Regions from separate parts of the Homo sapiens genome. Here region 1 is linked to region 2. The links are contacts of gene promoters, found by promoter capture Hi-C in blood cells and fetal thymus (Javierre and others, 2016). All regions are on one chromosome and are shown on one strand. Each heading gives the region's core, a stretch centred on a gene start or on the middle of the fragment in contact. The rest is flanking DNA. Distances are from core to core; before and after follow the strand shown.

Region 1 (4,655 bases), core at 78-2,577, 610 kb before region 2:
AGTTGTGCCTGCACAGTAGATGCCATGTCTTATCTTACCATGAACGTAGAAAACTTCTTTGCTTATAATTAGCATTTCATTGATTTGAGTGGTGTGTTTGAAATTGAATTATTATTATTTATTCAAATCTAGGAACTAAAATGTAAAGATAAGTTTTGGTTTTGTGTGTATGAATGTACTATGCAGAGTCCATGTTGCTACTCTGTATAAGACCCAAGCCTTGATTGCCTCCCCGGAATGCTAATACAAAGGCTGTCATAGTTACTTTGTGGGCTAAAGCTGTATCCTTTAGGAAGGCAGTGAGAAACTTACTGAAAAAAAATGGAAGCCTGCTAGCTGAAAAATTTAAACACATTAACCAAAATGGCTGCAAGTAAACTCTTATCCAAGAGCTAAATTCCTGAGAGCTGTTTGAAATAATTTATTTAGACCTGTAAGAAGATCAGAAAGGGGTTGGATTTAGTTTACTCTCTCTAGAAACTAAACATCATATAATATAGACTCTCATCTATAATGAGAAGGGATGTTGTATTCAGGAATAGGCTGGAAAATATTAATCCAGCTTTTCCAATCTTCATTATTTTTTTAAAAAAGGAAATTTTGCCTTTCTCTGTGTAAATCAAGTTGAAATGTTTCTCTAGCTAGAGTTGATGTCATTGCACCAGCCACTTGTTTGACCTAGTTAATAGAACTTATATTTATTGCAACCTTCCCCTCGTCACCTCATTTTAAGACAGGGGTTCACAAGGAATGGCCTGCAGGCTGCTTTAACCAGGTAATTAGAACAGCATGTGTGTGACAGCTAGTAGTTTAAAGCAGTAATTCAGCTGTGTCTGAAAAGATTATTCACCTTTCCATTTACTCATTTCTCTATTTGTACTGAATTTTACATGCCAATCCACAGTTTTCTATGTCAGTGCCTATAATTGACTGTACTTGTTACATAATTAGCAACTGTGCCTTGAATTGAAACTCCTTCTATCTTTTGTTTTACTGATAGCCAAGAAGCAGGTAGATTTTCATGTTCTCTCTGAAAGCTTTCAGGGATAGCTCAGTCAGTCAGTCAATCACAGGGTATCTCTATGACAACTCTTGTGACATTTATTTAATGGCACTTGGCAAAATAATTAAAATTAATAGCTTATTTAAACAAGCAGAGTTAAAGCTTTGTTTAAAAGGGTACTTACTGTTTCAAAATAAATTTTATTTTACAAATGACTTAAAATTCTAGAATTTAAAAAGACTTCTAATGAAAAAATATTTTCTAGCTTGTGCATTGATTTTCTAACCTTTTGTCCATTTAGGGATCTGAAAAAAAGTGGTAGTACAATGTTGGGCTTCTTAAACAGTGATTTCCTCAGCTTTTTAAGAAAAGCCTATTATGTTTTACATTCAGTTTCATCTTTTGTGTGAACTTAAATGTGCCAGATTGCATCTACAGTGTTTTTATTTAGTGGGGCAAACTAGTCTCTTCCTTTTCTCTTTGTATGAAGCTTTTACCTTCTCCACCTCTACTCCAACCCATGCAAGAAATGGAGATGTTAAAATGCAAGAAAATAATGCAGAATAAGAAAGGATAAAGTCCATTGGGGTTGGCCTAATATACTGTTGCTAAACCTGCTTTACTGAAAAGCCGCCTGATATATTATACTGGGATGTATCACCCTTTGATAGTTATTTTATTAGGAAAAAAGTATTTGCATTTCCAGTTCAAGATATAAGGAGCATCTAAGAAAGAACTACTGCAAAGCCAGCAGAGGGAGCACATCATGTGTTTGCTGGCTTGTCTTGAAAAATATGCAGTATCTTTTGAAAGATTCTTGACCAATGTAACTAAAAATAAACAAGATCATTTTTTCCAGTGTGGCTTCAAAATTAATATTTTAAAAAGGGGAAGAAAAAAAGATTCTTTGTCAAAAGCTGATAATGGATCTTCTCCCCAAATAGGGACTTCTAGGCATTTTAAAAAGTTGATCTAGACAAAAGAGGAATTAAGTTGAGTCCTCAGCAGGAATTGTAGCTTGTTCATTGAATGGTATTTATTTTCCCATAGGCCTTTTTGATTAATACTTCAAATTTGACTTTTAATTTGATACATACAATTGTTCTCATACCACTTCCCAAAAAGGGTTTTATTTTTATTTTTATTTTTTCTAAGTATGGAAATAGCAGCACATAAGAAGGTTCCTATTACATGTATAGGATTGTTGATGGTTGTCTTGCTTCTAATTTGTGCTGTTAAATAGTCACAGTTTACTGGAAATTTAAGTTTTTACACTTCCTGGGCCTAGTGTAAAGTTGATTTCCTGTTGAGCTTTCGGGGTTCATAAATATAGGCCTGCTTTTCTTTCTTGGTGGCTTTTTTGATGCATGGGATTATGGAAGTTTTATACATGCATTAAAGTTCTTTTTCCTTGGTGAACTATAGCTGAAGTGTGTAACTCGAGAGCAGTAAGAAATACTTAAAAGTATTTTGCTTAAGAAAATATCTTCACATGTGACATCCCGAATCTTCTATTATGTTTCTTTACTTTGCAGTCTCATTTTCAAAATATATTATCATAGCCAAGGCATTTTTCTCTAAACTTCTTTTTAACAAAGGGTTCCCTCCTTATGCTGCTCTAATTTTGCTTATTCAGGACGTGTCTCACGGTTTCTAAGCAACCAAGATAATACATATATAATAATTGTGTATTTTAGCTTTGAAAGTCTTAAAAATAATCCTCAAAAAGGGAGAGAGGGTGATTTGTTTTCTTAGGTACCCATGTTCTGAGTTATCAATATTGTTTATATTTAGACACTGACGAAATAGTAAACTTAGGTTGCTTAATTAGCATATGGGAGATCCTCATTAATGTAATTCTCTTATTGTACTTAATACAAATTCCTGCCTTTTCTTTTTCTGTAATATGAACTGTTGTGTAAGCAGTATTGAGTCATTCAAGAACTCAGCAAACACCACTAATCTAGGAAAGGTGCAGATTCTATCTCATATCCATGTTTTAATTTTCTAGAAATTGTTTAGGGTGGGAATTTCTAGAATGCTGGTGTGTGGAGCTTGGTTGACCTTCTAGGTGAAAAGGCCATTTAGTTAAAATTATTTAAAGCAAAACATTTAAAGTCTCTGGAAATTGTCCTAAGGGCACACAGCAAATGGAGAAATACTTTCAATAAAGTCTACTAAATCTCAGTAAGAACTGGAGACCTTGTGGCATTTGAGCCACAACCAGCTTCCATCCATTACCTCTCCCAGCTCCATGTTATGGAAAGTCTCCTCCAGGAGAGTGCAGCCAAGAATTCAGGGTCCCCTCTCTCCCAGACTCTTGAGTCTGTTCTCCCTGGCTAAAGACAGGACAGAATAATATATTCCCTGAAATGTGATAGCAGTTTCCAAGCACCACATATTTTCATTAGTAAAGGGTGAAAATCTAACTGGCTAAGGAAGCTTAAGCACTACCTTTGACCAGTAAGAAGTTTATGTGAACCCAGGGGTGACCCCTAAGAAGCCAGGCTGAAAGATAAAAACAAGGAAAAAAATCTGAGCAGGGACATCAGAAGCTGCATACTGCAGGGTAAATAGGCTTCACAGAATTATTCCAGCCAAGCCACTAAACAAACAACAAGCAACACCAGAACAGGGATAGGATAGGAGAGGAGGATAGAGGGTACATAACCAGACTTGGTTGTATTATCTAAAATGTCCAGTTTTCAACAGAAATTCATGCAGAAAAACTAGAAAGTGTGACCACCTACTGGGGATAAAAACAGAAAACAGAAATTGCCTTTGAGGGGGCCCAGATGTTGGATTTAGACCAAGACTTCGAATTATAAATACATTTCAAAATTAATGTAATTATAAGTAAATATAAAAGAGGTATGATTACAGACTCATCAAGTAGAGATTATCAATAAAGAGATTATACAAATAATCCACATAGAAATAGAGACTTAAGAAACTAACTTGACAAGCATGTTTTTAACATGTAAATACTAAATATATGAGTATATATTTTTTATTAAAAATCTTTTTCTTTCAAAAATTTTAACAGAAACAGGGTCTTAACTATGTTTTCCAGGCTGGTCTCAAACCCCTGGTCTGAAGCAATCCTCCTGCCTTGGCCTCCCAAAATGTTGGTATTACAGGCATGAGCCACCATAGCCAGTCTTAAATACATATTTTAAAAGGTAAACCATCTGAAGAGATATTCAGAAACTGTAAAATCAGAATTTATCTTATATATCAGTACTTTTTCATTTAGTTCTGCTTATTTTATGTAACACACCAAGTTGCTTCAGAGTTTGAAAAATGTCATGTTCTAAATAGGATCTAAACTCTAGTCATATATCCTGCCAACTCAACACATTCTTTGAGCTACTCAATCTTTTAGTGAATAGAGAATAGATATCCCTTGGCCATGTCTACCTTAGAACCTCTTAAAGGTTTGTAAGGTATAATGAATGGGTAAGTACACACAACGTAACATAACAGGCCATCAGTGGGAAATATTTTTAGTGTTATTTGAGTGACAACCAATTCGTGGTGTAGCCTTCTTATTGTCTCCCTGATGTCTGATACAAGCTGGCAATCAGCAGTTCAGTAGAACAGAATTTCTGGAAAGGGTAGTTGAGTTGTAAATTCATGTCAGAGTTCTGGT
Region 2 (4,757 bases), core at 1,303-3,802:
AACTTCAGGTTTACATACCACTCAAAAGAATTTTCACATAACAGAAGATGTTATAAATAAAGACCAAGGGTTCAATATTCAGCAGCAGGGTCTTTAATTATTCTGAAATCTCTTTGGTCAGTATTTTTAAGCATCGTTCATCAGAAAGACTCCTTTCCCAACTAACATTTGTATATTTTACAGGATCAGCAGTAAAGACAAACCTCAGAGAGATAATCCCAAGCAAAACTATGTCACTGAGTGTGACTGGATGACTATTGGTACATCATTTCAGTAAATTTCCAATACAATGGCCCAAGTACATCAGGTAGATTTTAGATAATGAGACATGCACCACTGACTACCTAAAATACATGCACATTAGTGAGGCATCGATTCCAATTAGTAATTGAAATCAAAAGTATATTAACAACCTGATATTGGTTCAAGCGTAATATCCTTTACTTTCAAGTAAGGATAACACTTATTCTTGTCAAAGACTGTACTCTGATTAATACAACCTCTATCCCACCTTACAAGAAGGCTGTATCTTGTTAACAGTGGGATGCTGATAAGCCCGCCTTAATCCTTAACACTTTGCCTTCCCAACCTGCTAAGCCATCTCTCTCCAGTATTCCCCTATAAGAGACGTTCCGCTCCAGTTACCAGACATAAAAGTCGTCTTGGTATATCCTCCAACAACCAAATTCACATTATTATTTTCTCAGCTCCTGGTTTATTTCCTAACAAATTTTAACTTCTTTCAGAGACCAAGTCAAATCTTGCCTCTTTCAAAGAGTTCCCTAACTCAGCCTACACATCCTATCTTTTCTGATTTTCTACCACATTTATAGTCCTCAAACAGCACTGGTTACCTGCTACTTAACTTGGTTTTATAATTATTTTATACATCTCCTAGCTAGACTACTGCTCTCAAAGGGAAAAAAAAGACAGGTCTTCTATGTCATTTTTCACTCCATAATCCTCCTCCCACACCTATCATGATACTGGGCAGAGGGAGGCACATGTATTAAGTACTTGATGGACTGAACTCAATGCTTTCTATACATAGATACACCACTTGAGCATAGTGTGCTATATAACAAATATCCATTGCATGCCTACTCTGTGGCAAGCACATTTTTCCTATGTGTTAGACATAGGGCAAGGAGGAAAACACAGATGACTCCTGTCCTAAAAGCTATTACAGTGGAGGGAGGAAGACACTTTGAATTCCGAGTAATCTAATAAGTGTTACAAAGCAAGGTTATTACTGGTTCCAAGAGGTAACATACTTTACAGATTCTCAGTTATGAAACAGAATCATAGAATTTTAGACCTAAATGAGAACCTTGAACTTATTTTCCTCTATCCTCTTACACAAAACATTAGATTTCAGTACAGCCTATCTTTTCACTGGTTCTACAAATTGCCTTAATCAACAGAAAGAAAAGACTGGCTTCTTCCCTGTCTCCAATATTCCTCGCTCCCAAGTATGGTAACCACAACCCCTATACATCTACCCATGATAGAGTCCAGAGCACTGAGAAGACAGCACAGGGCTGAGGATGAGCTACACCTTTACATGCTGGGTTCTCCCATCATCAACACTTTCCGCCCACACAGTGAACAGAATCCGTATTTTCTGCCCAGAAAATAGCAGCCTGTACTGCCTTTAGGAAAAACAAACAAAACATGCTTCCATACTTCCTTGGATCTACTAATGACAAAAGCACAACACGGTTCTGGGAAATATAGCAAGATAACTAAGTCTATGAGGAAGTAAGAAATGAGGATGCCTATCAGCACCTTGGTCTCAAAATCTGTAACAACAATGTACTAAAACGCCAAGGAAACACATGCACATACATGTGAAGTTAGAAACTCTAGGCAACAGGTTGGCTGCCCCGGATCTATACTGACAGGTCGCCCTCCCAAGGTCGTGGGTGTGTCTGATGCCGCACGCAGGCACTGATTCACAACTCTCTCCATAACAACCAGCTCCTACTCAGAGGCTGGCCAGGGCAGGGGAGATGAGGGCCCCAGCAGTCCCAAACTTTCCAAACCCCCACCCCGGGGTCCCGGGTTTCGCCTCCTCAGTCCCAGGCAACGTCGTCTCAGACAGGATACGAGACTGCTAGGGAACCTGGGCTGCCCCTGATTCGAACTCCTCTCTTTGGGAGGCTGGTAGAGCCACCCCGAATCCCCGAAACGTCTACTTCCCACTACACCTTCGTGGACTGCGAACGGGACGGCTACCGCTCTCCCAGAGCACCCGGGCCCAAGAAATGACCCTCGTCAGGCCCCGTCCCAGCTCCTCCCCCGCCCCCGGAAAAAGCGGCGGAGGGGCGGGGGGCGGTGCGCGCGGATACGGCGGGGGCGCGCGTCCCCGCGCCGCAGGTGCGGCCAGGCCCCACCTCCCCTGCAAGGACCCGGCTACTCACCCCAGCGATGCTCCTCTGAGACCAAGCTGCGACACAGACGCCTCTTCCGCCCGCTCCGCACCCCTCTCTGCGCCACCGCCCCCTTGGCCGCTTCCGTGGCCGCCGTCCTCGCCGCCGCCCCGGCTGCTGCGGCGCGCGTCCGCTTTCACGCACTCCGCCGTGGCCGCGCACGCGCCACTGCGCGCTGGCGTCACTTAGCAACCGATCGACAGCGGGCTGCTGGGTCCGGCGATGCAGGCCCAGAAAGTCGCCTAAGGCAGCTTCCGCGGCTTTTTCGCATCGGCCCGACCCTCTGCCCCTCCAGAACAGGGGGCCCCAGGGTGTGGCTGCCCTGCCGGCACCTGGCTCCGGGTAAGTCGAGTCACCACACGTCACTGTATGGCGTCACCGGCGCACGTCACTACGGATGAGAAGGTCCTGGGCGCCTGTGGAGTGACCTCGTCCAGACCGCCGCAGACCCGATCGGCAAGTTCTTGGAGGTGCAGGAAGGTTCTCCAAGGAGTAGGACCAGAAAGGGATGAGAGCGCGAGCGCGGTTAATGTCGAGGCTGCTAAGTGATGCTCGTTAATTTCGCAGCAGGGTGTGACTGGCCCAGCCTTGACTCTCAGTTTCCTCTCTCAGTAAATGGGCATAATAATACCGGTCCAGCCTACGCTGGAGAATTGTGAGGTGAAAATGAAATAAGGTATGCAAAGGTACTTTGTAAGTATAAAGCCCATTTGACTTGGTGGCTCAAGCCTGTAATCCCAGCACTTTGGGAGGCCGAGGTGGGCGGATCGCTTGAGCTCAGGAGTTCGACACCAGCCTGGGTAACATAGTGAAACCCCGTCTCTACAAAAAAGACAAAAACTAAATGGGCATGTTGGCGCGCGCCTGTAGTCACAAATGCTCGGGGGGCTGAGGTGGGAGGATCGCTTGAACCTGGGGAGTTCAAGATTGCAGTGAACCGTGATCGCGCCGCTGCACTCCAGCCTCTGCAGTGAGAGCAAGACACTGTCTCAAAAAAATGTATTTATCTATCTACATAGATAAGAGTCCTAGAAATCCGGGTGCAGGTCTGACTGTAGCTGGTGTAGGAAAGTCAGTTATCCCCGACGCTGGAGCAAGCTAGGGGACCGCCCTTGCAGTTGTTGGAGGAGACAAATTGGGAAGGACTTAATTCCGGGCAAAGGAAGCTTCATGAGTAAAAGTAGAAAGTGAAAATGGTCAGGAAAAGCAAGGCTTGGGGCAGGGAGACCCATTTTTAGGCCATTGCAGTACTCCAGACAAGTGATAAGAACATTAAACAAGGCATTGGCAGTGGGAATAGAGGAGGGGATAGATGTTAGCGCCATTAAGGTGGTAGAATTCACAGCACTGAGTGCGGATAAATGAGTAGGCCAGGTTTCTAGCATGAGTGCTGAGGTAGACAGTGGTAACATTTAGCAAGATGGCAAGCTACATGAGTCTTGATTATCCACAAGTGTCTAAGTTACTATTATAGATAGTGATGGTGACATTTCTTAGGAGGATGACCAGATATGTGGAGTATGATGATGAGTTCAAATATGGATATGTTTGTTAGGGAAACATTTACTCTCCATTCACAATGTCTTTCTTCCATATGGAATGATATCCATTAGTGTAATACTCTCCTGGTTTCTCTTATACCTGTCTGCAACTCACTCTTGCCTAGAGGAGTGACTTCCTGATTGGTGAACTTAAATGGGAGAAACTGGACATGTGGCATCTATCCCATTCTTTTTCTCTTAAAAGATAACTATCTTCAGGGAACTGTCCTGGTGTTCTTTTCCGTTTCTTCTGGAGCAGGGCCTGTGGGTAGGGACAAGGGTGCCTAGTCCAGGGCTACAAAGAGAGTATATGTATTTAATTCCAGAGTTTGGCATTAGGAAGCTGTCTGTCCACAGATAATATTTAATACCAGCTTTGTCAGCTGTGTTACACAGAATAATGATCCCCCCCAACCAAAAAAAAAAGGATGACCACACCCTAATACTCAGAACCCATGAATATGTTATATTATGTGGCAAAAGGGACTTTGCAGATATGATTAAATGATGTATCTAGGGAGATTATCCTGGATTGTCTGACTGGGCTGGAGGCAGGAGGGTCAGAGTCAGAGAAGGAGATGTGATGATGGAAGCAGAGGTCAGACAGAGATTTGAAGATGCTATACTGTTGGCTTTGAAGATGGACCCAAGAAACGCAAGCAAATTGTAGATGCGGGAGAAGGCAAGGAAATGGATTCTTCTCTAGCACCCTAAGAACACAGCCCTGCCAACACCTTGATTTTAGGACTTCTGACTTCTAGAACTGCGAGATAAGAAACTTGTA

Evidence for each region. The method cuts DNA at HindIII sites, captures the fragments that hold promoters and counts their contacts. A CHiCAGO score of 5 or more calls a contact.
Region 1: a contact is called between a fragment that was not itself captured here and the fragment with the promoter of BTBD9 in region 2, in 2 of 17 cell types (naive B cells and M2 macrophages). The highest score is 5.4, in naive B cells.

The regions. Positions count from the first base shown.
Region 1 is chr6:38,032,749-38,037,403 of GRCh38, forward strand. The region is part of intron 2 of ZFAND3 (zinc finger AN1-type containing 3); the gene reads left to right. Among named protein-coding and RNA genes, the nearest start is that of ZFAND3, 220 kb to the left of the region's middle. The HindIII fragment of the contact is 328 bases long and covers 1,164-1,491 here.
Region 2 is chr6:38,637,377-38,642,133 of GRCh38, forward strand. BTBD9 (BTB domain containing 9) reads right to left here and starts at 2,553. Exons shown (of 11, transcript NM_001099272.2): 1 at 2,424-2,553. LOC105375044 (a long non-coding RNA gene) reads left to right here and starts at 3,019. Exons shown (of 3, transcript XR_926767.4): 1 at 3,019-3,108. RefSeq lists a silencer at 2,216-2,415 and enhancers at 2,515-3,015, 2,816-2,895. The HindIII fragment of the contact is 9,229 bases long and covers 1-3,596 here.